2 separate regions of the Homo sapiens genome follow, and region 1 is linked to region 2. The links are contacts of gene promoters, found by promoter capture Hi-C in human tissues and cell types (Jung and others, 2019). All regions are on one chromosome and are shown on one strand. The core of a region is centred on a gene start or on the middle of the fragment in contact, and the rest is flanking DNA. Distances in the headings are between cores, read along the strand shown. Region 1 holds the start of RASGRP2 (RAS guanyl releasing protein 2). Region 2 holds the start of SLC22A12 (solute carrier family 22 member 12).

Region 1 (5,192 bases), core at 1,221-3,720, 150 kb before region 2:
TTGGGCCAGCCCCAGCACCTCATGCAGAGGGTGGGGTACTGGAGTTAGATCTCTAAGCCCCTCCTGGAACCCTCATTTTCCCCACTCTCAATGTCCCAGTGTCCAGCGTGACTAAGGACACGGGCCCCCTTCCGTCCTCGGGCTCCCGGTCCCCTCCTATTTATGGGGTCTGACCAACTGCACCCACTCCCTAATAAATTCATTCTCCTTGGGAGCCTCCTTACTCCTCTTTGTTGGGAAATATTTTTAGCTCTTGGCGGGCTCAACAGCAGCCGCGCAGTCACCCCCTTATCCTCCACCCTCGGCAGGTGCGTCCCACGGCGGGACGGTGATGGGAGGTGGAGGGGGCGACCCGTGGGGGCGGGGCCTAGGCCTCTCCAGCCCCTTTCCTGGCGTCACCCTCCACGCCTCTCTTCCCAGTGCCGTGTCCATACTAGGTCAGCGGCCAGCCTCGCTGGCCGGGGGCGGGGCGTCTGCCTGGGTGGGGCCCACCGGGGCTGGGAGCCGGGACTTGGGCTGAGGCTTCCCGGACCACGGAGGATCCGCGCTGTCGAGGGCAGGACCCAGGAGGGGGAGGAAGCAGAGGATGCTCGGCGCCTTCTTGGCTCCGCCCTTAGCCCCGCCCTACTGCGGCGTTTAAGGGTCTCTTAGCAGGTGGCTACACTGGATCCAAAGTCGGGGGAGTGTTACGGCAGGGAACACTCGCAGACCGCCTAGTCTAGGCCCTCATTATGGGGAAACTGAGGAACAGAAAGGTCCTGTTTCTAAGTCTTACATTACCAAGACTGAGGTGCGGGGGCGGTCCTGGATCCCCCGCCCCAAGGCTGGGAGGGGCACGCCTCGGAAGGGAGGTTTGGGGTCGGTGGTTTCACAGTGAGTGTGTCTGAAGCCAAATGGTCGGAAACCGTTACCCGCTCTCCTAGGCCCGGCTAGTGGGGACCCCAACCGCCTGCGGCTGCCCCTCCCAAGTTCCTCCCTGTTGGCCAGGCATCCAGGTCTCCAGTCTCCGAGCTGCGGAGAACCCACCGCCACATGCGGCTGCCCCTTTCCATTCGACCCTGTGGGGAGCCAGGCTTCCGGGGCCCCGTTCCTCCTGTGTGAACTGGGCCCCCCGCCCCCATTCCCAGACATCAAGGCCGCGTCTCCAGATAGCCACGATTTCATTCCTCGCTCCCCACAGGTCCCTCTCCCCAAAATATTCCCATCTTGTCCTAGCCCATCCCCCAGACTATCTCAAGGACCAGCTGTCCCCACGCCCCCGACCTCCACTAGGCCTGTGCCACCCGCTGCCTGCAGGAAGACGCCCGGTCCCGGGCCGGGTTAGCCCCATGGGAACGGTTTGTCTCGAAAACAGGAACCCGAGCTGGGGGCTGGGCGGGGCGCCCCTTCCCCACCGCAGTCCGCTTCCTGCCCCTCCCGGCTTCCTCCGCCCGACACCCAGGCAGGGCGGGGGGCACTGGGGCGTCCGCGGTTGGGGGAGGGGCTCTTCGTTTCGGTCCCCCCTCCGCGTCCCGGGCGGCGGGGCCTCCGGTCGCCCGCCCTCGGGGCAGCTAGTGGCGCAGCCCCCCGCCCGCGGCCCTGGCCTCCCGGGCGGCGCGGCAGGGGAGGGGTTAAGCTGCCGCAGGGACCGCCGCGTGCGGGGCGAGAGGGAGCCCCCGGTGGGGGTGGCGCAGCCGGCGGTGCGGAGCTCCGCGCAGGGGCGGAGGGGGGAGGGGGCAGCCTGGCGCGGGGGCGGGGGCGGGGCGGCGGGGAGCGGGGCCGCGGCGTGGAGAGCGGGCGGGAGCCGCAGCCGCAGCGAGGCCGGCGGGCGGGAGCGCACGGAGGTGGGGTCGGCCAGGCCGGTGCGGGCTCCTTGCGGCAGGTCCCAAGAGTGAGTGGGCGAGCGCGGGCGGGGCGCCAGGCGAAGGAGGGCGCGGCCCCCAGCGACTCCCCCCCCGCCCAGGGCGGCGCGGGCGGGCTGGGGGCGGCGAGCGGGTGGGGAGTCTGCGGCCCGGGTCTGGGAGAGGGGGCAGCGGCCACGAGAGCTAAGGCGCGCTGGATCCCCGGAGGGCGGAGGACCTCCACGGTGCACCCAGCTTTTCCCAGCCACCTTCCAGCGGGGCCCTCCCCCGCGTACCCCCATTTGGCAGATGAGAAAATTGAGGCTCCCAGAGGCCAAGTGATTCTCAAGGTCACACGAGGAAGCGGTAGAGCCAGGCGGGGACGGCTCTGGGTGGCTCTTAGGAAAAGTCCGCCTGAGAACTCCGTACAGGAGCTCCCCTGTCCTCCAGCCTGGGGGAGTGAGTATGTGTAGGGCCGGGGTACCTTTCCGTGGGGCAAGGCTCTGCCAAAATCTGGGAGTGAGGGGAGTCAGGGAGCTGGGGCCGCAGGGCGGGCCCTGCACCGCAAATGGGAGGGGGGCGACGGAATGGGCGTGCGCACCCATGGGGGTGTGTGCATGTGTGTGGGAGTGTACATGCGTGGAGAGGCACTGCCTTGCGTGTGTGCACACGTGTGAGGATGTCAGCGCCTGTGTGGCCGCGGGACTCAAGGCTGGCCTGGCTCAAGTGAACAGCACGTCCAGGAGGCGACCTCGTCCGCGGGTTTGCATTCTGGGGTGGACGAGCTGGGTATGTGTGCCTGAGGGTTTCTTCGTGCAGGTGTGCACAGGGTGTGGGTGCCATTGTGTGTGAGAGACGGAGGATGGGAGGCCGGTGCCTGTGGCCCGGTGCGTGTAAGTGCGGACGCCTGCACCTCCACTTAGGTCCCCGGCCTCCGACGAATAACTTGGGTGTGGAGTGTTTGCCCCTGCCAGGGTGCGTATGACCCCGCCAGTGACCGGAGTTGCTAATGGTGTCATGCACCCACCGGCCACCCTTGGCGCGAGCGCCCCCCTCTGGACACCCTGCTCCGTGCGCGCTCACAGTTCGCCTGTGCGGGGCCGGGGCCAGGGTCAGGAGCCGGGGATAGGGAGGAAGAGGGCCTGTGGACAAGCTGAGCCGGGACCCCTGGGACCTTTGCGGAGGTGGCCTGGGAGCGCTCAGTTCCCAGGCTCAGGCTTCCCGCTGACGCCTCCTGGCCGCAGCGGGCTCCCCCCGCCCCAGGAATGTTCCTCTCCCATCCAGTCCGCCTCCCCTAGGGCAGGCCCCCTGGGGGCTGCCGCAGCCCCGCCTCGCCTTCCTGGGCTCCCGGGAGGGGGCGAGGCGGGCAGGACGCCTGGGTTCTCTCCCCCCACCTCCCATACCAGGGAGAAATTCCTCCGAGGTCCCCTCAGGCTCTGGGTTCCCAAAATAACCCTGCGGGGGAAGGGAGGCTGTGGAGGGAGGGAAGCGGGAGGGGCGCAGAGCCGAGCTGCGGGGTGCTGCAGGTGCCTCTGGGGAGAGGGCGCGAGGAGAAGGCGCCCTGCGGGGGGCTGGGCGCCAGCCAGTCCTGGGATCTTGGTTCGTCCCCATCCTCGTGAAGCCCCTCGGCCTTCCCGCGACTCCGAGGGTGGGCCGGAAGCCTCTCTGCGGGTCCGTTTCCCAACTGGCGGGTTGCACCATCCCGGGCCAGACCGTTTAACCCCGGGAGTGGCCGCGGGGGACAACTCCGCCCCTGTCCAGCAGGGGGCGTGCCCGCCCCGCCCCGTTTCTGCCCGCGGGGCCGCTCCCCCGCCCGCGACTCCGCAGACTCCCGCTCTGCCTCTCCCGGGACAGGGGTTCGGTCCGAGCCCGGTGGGAGGCTCCCGGAGCGCAGCCTGGGCCCAGCCCACCCCGCGCCGGCGGCCATGGCAGGCACCCTGGACCTGGACAAGGGCTGCACGGTGGAGGAGCTGCTCCGCGGGTGCATCGAAGCCTTCGGTGAGTGGCTCGGGAGGGCACACGGAGCCTGAGCCTAGCCCCGAGTCTGAGCCCGGGTCCCTGCCTCCCAGGCACAGTCCAGGGCACAGCCCTGACCCGGACCCACCCTGCTCCGCAGCGTGCAGTCTCTTTAACGAAAGCCTCCTCCGCAACGCAGGGCAGAGAGATGCACGCCCTTCAGACAGATGAGGTTTCCCTTCTCTAGCCTTCCCCAGCGGCGGCGAAGGGAGGGCCGGGTCCCGGACTCTGACACTTGAGGGGCATTATCTGTCTCCCGGGGAATCCGGAGGAACTCGCTATCTCCGGCCTGGGAGCTGTTTCCGGCTAATGGGGGGCGGCTTATCTGGTGAAGGGGTGCCCCTTCCCCCCAAGCGCTCAGGAAATGACCTCTGGATTCTTGACCCCGGGGAACCCAGGCTCCTTCCGCCCCAGCTGGTTCCCCTCCGGACGATGGGCGGCTCGGGCGCTCCCCTCCTCCAGTCCTCAGGGCGTGCCTATCTCTCGCCCACCACACCTTTCCTCTCTAATTTGCCTCCTGCTCTCGGAGTCCTGGGCAAGCAGGAGGTGGGCGGGGTCGAGCGTGCACCCGAAGGACCGATACCTGGCGGGTTGCGGGGTGAGGATGAGGCATGGTAGCTGCGGACCCAGCTCAGCCACCTGTCTTTGACCCTTCGGAGTCAGATGACTCCGGGAAGGTGCGGGACCCGCAGCTGGTGCGCATGTTCCTCATGATGCACCCCTGGTACATCCCCTCCTCTCAGCTGGCGGCCAAGCTGCTCCACATATATCCTTCGCCGGCCTTGCCAAGGCCCCCGCCGTCGGAGCCCATGCGCAGCCCCTCTGCCCAGCCCAGGTGCAGAATGAGCCTCGCTCCTAAGTATAGGCCACTCCTTATCCCAGAGCTCAGGCGTCGTCCCAGCCTCCAACTAGGGCCTAGGCTCTGCCCCCTCCTTGCTCCTAGCGACTCGGTCCTGTCCCCAGGCTCTGTCCCCAGCCGAGGCCTTGCCCTCCTTCTCCCTAGAGTCTGGGGCCTGCCCCTGCTTCAGGCTTGGGTGCGCCCCGTGCATCTCTCTCTCCCAGAGCCCAGGCTTTGCTTTCAGCCTCCCTCAGCACCTAGTCCTCCACCCCCACCTCCAACCCCTCCCAGAGCTCAAGCCTCACCCCCAGCATCTCCGCAGAGCGCAAGCCCCATCCCTAGAACGTGTCTCCTAGAACCAGGCCCCGCCCCCAGCCTCCCTCCACGCAGGCCTCCCTTTCTAGAGTTAAGCGGCCTCCTTAACCCTCTCCTTCACCTACCAACAATCCCGGAAGGACAACTCCAATTCCCTGCAGGTGAAAACGTGCCACCTGGTCAGGTGAGTCTTTCCCCTGGGG
Region 2 (6,014 bases), core at 4-2,503:
CTCACCCCTCTCCCAGAGGTTGCTTCCCTCCTGTTCTTTATAAAGAGGTTCTTCCCACTTGTTGGGATGAGCTGCCCCTCTCTGCTTGCCTGGCTTTGCCTGGCGCCCCATCTGGGAGGCAGCCTGGGGTAATCCCTTACTCTGTGTGCTTTGGTCTCGGGGAATCCAGTGAATTGTCACTGAGTCCCCCTGCTGCTGAGTTGCCTGGAGTCACGGCTGACAGGTCAGCAGGGCCAGGACAGGGTGAGGCCGGTGAGTGTCCAGGTGCCAGCATTTAGAGGTGCCCGCCCAGGTGCCCCCCGCACCTCCAAGAGCCTGGGCTGGCCCCATTTGTAGACTGATCCCTGCCGCCCACTTCCCTGTGTGTGGCTGACGAGGGGCTGAGAGGCTCGAGAGTGAGTGGGGCCTGGGGAGGTGGGTCCCTCCCAGGACTGGACCTTTGAGTCTGACCCACCGTGATCCATGACTGACCTCCAAGGTGGTGGGACTCGAGTGGCTCTGGGGGAGGCCCTACCTTGGCCACGATTGTGGAGGTGAAGATGCTGCGGTCATAGACCCAGCCATCCACACACGGCTCCGTGTCGGCCTCGCTCCAGCTGGTGGCCGTGGCATTGGGGTCCAAGAGCTGCCACTGTGGCTGGCGGAAGCGGCGGCACTGGTGGGGCCTCTGGTTGGGGCCCGGCGGGATGGAAATAGCCAGGAGGGCCTCAGGACTCAAGCTCCCTAGGATGCTGGCCTGAGCCGTGCTGTTGTCCAGGAGGGGTGCCCAGCAGCGGTGGCTGGGCACGGCGGCCGAGAAGTTCTCCAGCATGCTCTGGGTACACAGCCACATGATGGAGACCATCAGAGCCATCGTCTGGAGAACCTGGAACCTGCCCAGGCCACCCACGAGGTCCAGGAGTTCAGAAAATGCCATGGAACCTACTCAAGGGGCCCAGAAGAGGGGCCCACTTCACAAAGGCTGGCCCAGGGCAAAGAGGCCAGGGCAACGGGCCTGTTTCCCCCACGGTGGTGCCCACAGTGGCTTCTCCAGCCCAGCGGCTAGGCTTCACAGACTCGGGGCCGGAGGCTCAGGCTCTCTGGTCATCTGCCTGCTGGTGTCACTTGGGGTGGCTCCAACTGGGCCCTGAGGCCGCGTGAGGTGATTCCGAGACCTCCAGCATCTCCCCAGAGAGGCAGCTGCTCCAGACCTCCCGGGAAAGCTGAATTTGGAAAGTAGGGAATGTGGAGACTGAAGACTTTAATTTTAGACTGGAATTAAAGTGTGACCGGTGACACTTATGGAATCGAGTTTAGCAATCATTTCCTTGGTCAAAGTTTAACCCGCGTTGAGGCAGGCACAGACGCGAGGGAGGTGCAGCCTCCTCTGCTTGGGGGCCAGGGCCGGCCTGCTCTGTGCCAGGTCTTGGGGAGGCCTAAGTTTTTCTCCTGGCGGCTGTGGGATGCCAGGGCTGCCTGCTCCCTTCGGTGCCCCTGTGTGCCCACCTCCCAGAGTGGCTGAGCCAAGAGAAGGTGGGCCAGGGGATCCCCCTAATTTGGGGCTGGGGCAGCTGTGCAAGTCTCTGTGTGGGCTTGGGTCACTGGCAGCTGCCCAGCCCCTGCGCCTCCCAGGCTGTGTGGCCTGGCCCCACCCGTGGCTCCTGCCTCCACTCACCTGCTGTGGTTGGCGTCCTGTGCCCGCTTTGCTGTTACCCTGTCCTGAGTCCTCGGTGGAGCTTCCCAGCATCAACAGACACCCCACAGACTCCCCAGGTTCGGTGTGCCCAATGCCACCCTGAGATCTCTGTCCCCTCCCCAAATCTATGCCTCCTGCAGAGCCCCACCTCAGCTATGGCCTCTCATGTCACAGTGTCTGGCCTGGAACCCAGCGTCTTGGTTCACGCCTCCTGCTCCCTGCCTCCCAAATCCACCAGGGGCCAAGCCTGGCTAGTTTTGCCTCCTAAGGATTTCTCTCTCCCACCTCCCCCACTCCACAGCTGTCCCTGCCCTTGTCTTTCTGCCTCAACTCCTGCCCCTGGACCCACCACGCACTGCGAGCCCTTGGGTCAAATCCTGCTTAAAAGCCAAGGGGCTCCCAGTCAACAACAGCTAGTGGTGACTTACTAGGGCAGGTGAGTGGACAGCAGTGTGTGCTGATGCAGGGTGTGGGGTTCAGGAAAGGCTGGACCGAGGCCAAGAGAACCCCCTTGGTCTCGATAGCTAATTCTGTAGGCGAAAGGGCCAGAGAACACAAAGCAGTTAAAAAGTGTGTGTGCATGGCCGGGCGTGGTGGCTCATGCCTGTAATCCCAGCACTTTGGGAGGCCGAGGTGGGGGGATCACTTGAGGTCAAGAGTTCAAGACCAGCTTGGCCAACATGGCAAAAACCCATCTCTACTAAAAATACAAAAGTTAGCTGAGCATGGTCGTGGTGCACAGCTGTAATTCCAGCTACTTGGGAGGCTGAGGCAGGAGAATCTCTTGAACCCAGGAGGCAGAGGTTGCAGCAAGCTGAGATTGCACCACTGCCCTCCAGCCTGGTTGACAGAGAAAGACTCTTATCTCAAAAAAAAAAAAAAAAAGAAAAGAAAAAAAAGAAGTGTATGTATATGTGGGTGTGTGCACATGTCTGTGTATGTGTGCACATGTGTTTGCACAAGTGCATGTGTGTACATGTGTGCATGCGTATATGTGCAGTGCAGCAGTGATGGCAACCCAGGTGTTTGCTCTTATGAGCTTTGGGCATAAAACTCTCCATTTGAGGCATAAATGCCCCTCCCATCTGCTTCTTTTTGCTTCACCGACTCTTCCCGCTGCCCCTCCACATGGCTTACCAAGCCAACTTCTTTGCCTCCCTGGGCTCTGCACCTTGAGTCATCCACTGCTTCCACCACATGCCCTGTACATGCTTTCTCAGTTCCCACCCTTGCTTATGTTGGACCTCCAGCCTGGAATGCTGTCTCCAGGCTCACCCTTAGGCCACATACTGTGTGGAATGGGCACAGTCCAAATACTCCTCCTCCAGCGGGCTCTCTTCACTTATTCCTGCCTACAACTAGGGCTCAGAGTTGTCAGTGGAATCTCATCTTTACACTGTCCTGCATTCTTCTCAAACTCCTGACCTCAGGTGATCTGCCTGCCTTGGCCTCCCAAAGTGGTGTGAGTTGCGGCACCCAGCCATGACCTGCATTCTTCTATTATGGTCCAGTTGGTCTTATTTCCAGTGAGCTCCTGGTAGTCTGGAACCCTTCTTTAGAGGCTCTTTGGAACTGATTTGGACAACAAATAAAGGTTCCATGGAGACTTGCTGAAGTGCATGGATGATTTTTTTAAAAATTTCATTTATTTTCTAATTATGAAATAATTTACACACTTCCTCAAAAATTCAGAACATATTGAAATGAAAATAAAGATCCCTCATATACTCATCAACCAGTGAGTTACACTACTGTTTACAGTTTGGTGTAAATATGTGCAGACTTTGTTTTAGTAACTGATATGTTTAGCTTCATCAGCTTGAGCTGCCAAATAAGCTTTACATTTCCTTTTGTAAAATCCAAAAGAAATACCTCTGCCTTTTAATTAGCGATTTTAACCTGTTCACATTTATTGTAATTATTGACATGTTTGGACTTACTGTATGTTTTCTTGTTTACCACATTTTCCCTTTAAATCTTGGTTTCCTTGTTCCTAATTTCTACTGAATCCATTAAGTTTTCTTGTTATATTCTTCTACTGTCTTGGTCTGTCAGTTGTACGTTTTATTTCTGTTACCCTTATATTTGAACACACAAACCAGGGGTTATTTGATACCATCTTCTCTCTTCAAACCTACCACCTTCTCTTCTATCCTCTCTCTCAATAGATGACCTTTTTTCTTATTTCACTAAAACAATAGAAGCCATCAGAAGCCAACAGTCTAATTCTCTCACCAGCTCACCTGCCTTGGTGCCCCCACATTCTGCCTTCCTTCCACCCAGTTTGGTTTCTCTCTCATCCATGCCAACCCCTCACTGTGTGCCTAGAGCCCACCCCCCTTTGCCTGCTCACATCTCTCTTTGGCATTTGTCTTTCCCTCGCTACTGGATAATTTCCACCAATGTACAAATATGCCATTTTTTTCTGTAGCCTTCCAAAAACTCCCCCTCCATTTGAGCCCCTCTTTCTTCTTAAGCGACTGCCCCACCTTTGCTTGTATTTACAACAAAATTCTATGAAAGTATTATTGACACTCATTTCCAGTTTCTGTCTTCCCATTTTTTTGTTTGTTTTTGGATTCATTCCCATCAAGGTTTTGCCCCTATCACTCTGCTGTCACCAATGACCTCCATGCTGCTAGATTCAATGACATTTTCAGTCCTCATCTTACTTGAGCCATCTGTCTCTGATCTCCATCTGAGAATACTTTCTTCCCTGGGCCTCCAGGACTCACTAGTTCTCAATCTTCTTGGTTGGGTTTTCCTCTTCTCCACACACTGTTAACATTGGAGGCCACTGAGCTCACTCCTTGGTCTTCTCTATATTCTCTATCATCTGGTCCATTCACATCTTTAGCCTGTACCTCTTCTTGGAATGCTAGATTTTGATCCAACTGCCTAATCTTAGGTGCTTAATAAACATCTCACACTTAGTGTGGCCAAAGCTGAGCTCTCCCAAAAAAATGCTTCTCATGCAGCTTTCTCCACTTTTTTTTTTTTAAGTTGAGTCAGAGTCTTGCTCTGTTGCCCAGGCTGGAGTGCAGTGGCGCCATCTTGGCCCATTGCAGTCTCCACTGCCCAGGTTCAAGCAATTCTCATGCCTCAGCCTCCTAAGTAGCTGGGTCTATAGGCATGTGCCACCATGCCCAGCTAATTTTTGTATTTTTAATATCGATGGGGTTTCACCATGTTGGCCAGGCTGGTCTCGAACTCCTGGCCTCAACTGATCTGCCCACCTCGGCCTCCCAAAGTACTGGGATTATAGGCATGAGCCACTGCACCCAGCCCCAAATCACCAGCATTTTAATTTCAGAATGTGTAATTTCCATTTCAGAATCCGTGTTTGGTTCTTCCTATAACTGCTTCTTCTTGTTTCCTAGTTTCCACTTCTTGTTTCATAGGTGGAATAATTTCCTTGATCTCTTAGTGGATATTACGAGTGTTTCTCTTGGGCCAGGCGTGGTGGCTCACGGCCGGAATCCCAGCACTTTGGGAGGCCGAGGCGAGTGGATCACTTGAGGTCAGGAGTTTGAGACCAGCCTGGCCAACATGGGGAAACCCTGCCTCTAGTAAAAATACAAAAATTAGCCAGAGGTGGTGGCACACACCTGTAATCCCAGCTACCAGGGTTGCTGAGGCAGGAGAATTGCTTGAATCCATGAGGCGGAGGTTGCAGTGGAGCCAAGATCACGCCACTGCACTCCAGCCTGGGTGACAGAGCAAGATTCTGTCTCAAAAAAAAAAAAAAAAAAAAAAGAAGAGTGTCTTTCTTCTTAATATCAATATTCATTTGTTGAGCTGAGTGTTGATAATGCACCAGCCACTGCTCTAGGCACAGGGATGCAGCGGTGAACAAACAAGATAATTCCCTGTTCTCATTGATATGTAGAAAGACATGCCAATGAGAGAGGAGAAACACATCAAGAAATAAATGAATATAGTGACAAGTAGTAATCATGCTGTGGAGAGAACAAGATAGCATAAGGGGCAGAGAGTAAGGATCATGTTGCCACTTTGGGTGGGGCAGTCAGGGAAGACTTCTCTGTGGAGGTGGCATTGAAAGAGACCCAAGTAGATGAGGGGACAAGACACACAGTTGACTGGGGAAAGAATATTGCAGGCAGAGGGAAGAGTATTATGCAAAGACCCTGGGGTGGGCATGTGATTTTATGCTCAAGAAGTAGGAAGGAGGCCAGTATGGTTGGGGAGAAGTGAGTGGGAAAAGTAGAGCAGTTTTGGGGCCAAAACATACACTTCCTTATAGGGTTTTGAGGAGAGAAGTGGCATGATCTGACTAATGTTTTTACAAATCTCCCTGGCTGCTGTGTGGAGAACAGAC

The links. Contacts are between HindIII fragments. The study calls those that stand out against the background at their distance.
Region 1: the fragment with the promoter of RASGRP2 here is called in contact with the fragment with the promoter of SLC22A12 in region 2 in 2 of the 25 tissues and cell types used here (bladder and dorsolateral prefrontal cortex).

What each region holds. Positions count from the first base shown.
Region 1 is chr11:64,741,420-64,746,611 of GRCh38, reverse strand. RASGRP2 (RAS guanyl releasing protein 2) reads left to right here and starts at 2,470. Exons shown (of 17, transcript NM_001098671.2): 1 at 2,470-2,609; 2 at 3,675-3,818; 3 at 4,500-4,602; 4 at 5,111-5,173. The coding sequence starts at 3,746. It overlaps PYGM (glycogen phosphorylase, muscle associated), which reads left to right. Exons shown (of 20, transcript NM_005609.4): 20 at 1-214. RefSeq lists silencers at 1,354-1,553, 1,804-1,913, 2,904-2,953, 3,114-3,163, 3,474-3,803 and 1 more. The HindIII fragment of the contact is 18,641 bases long and covers 1-5,192 here.
Region 2 is chr11:64,586,459-64,592,472 of GRCh38, reverse strand. SLC22A12 (solute carrier family 22 member 12) reads right to left here and starts at 1,253. Exons shown (of 10, transcript NM_144585.4): 1 at 515-1,253. The coding sequence starts at 916. The HindIII fragment of the contact is 41,401 bases long and covers 1-4,962 here.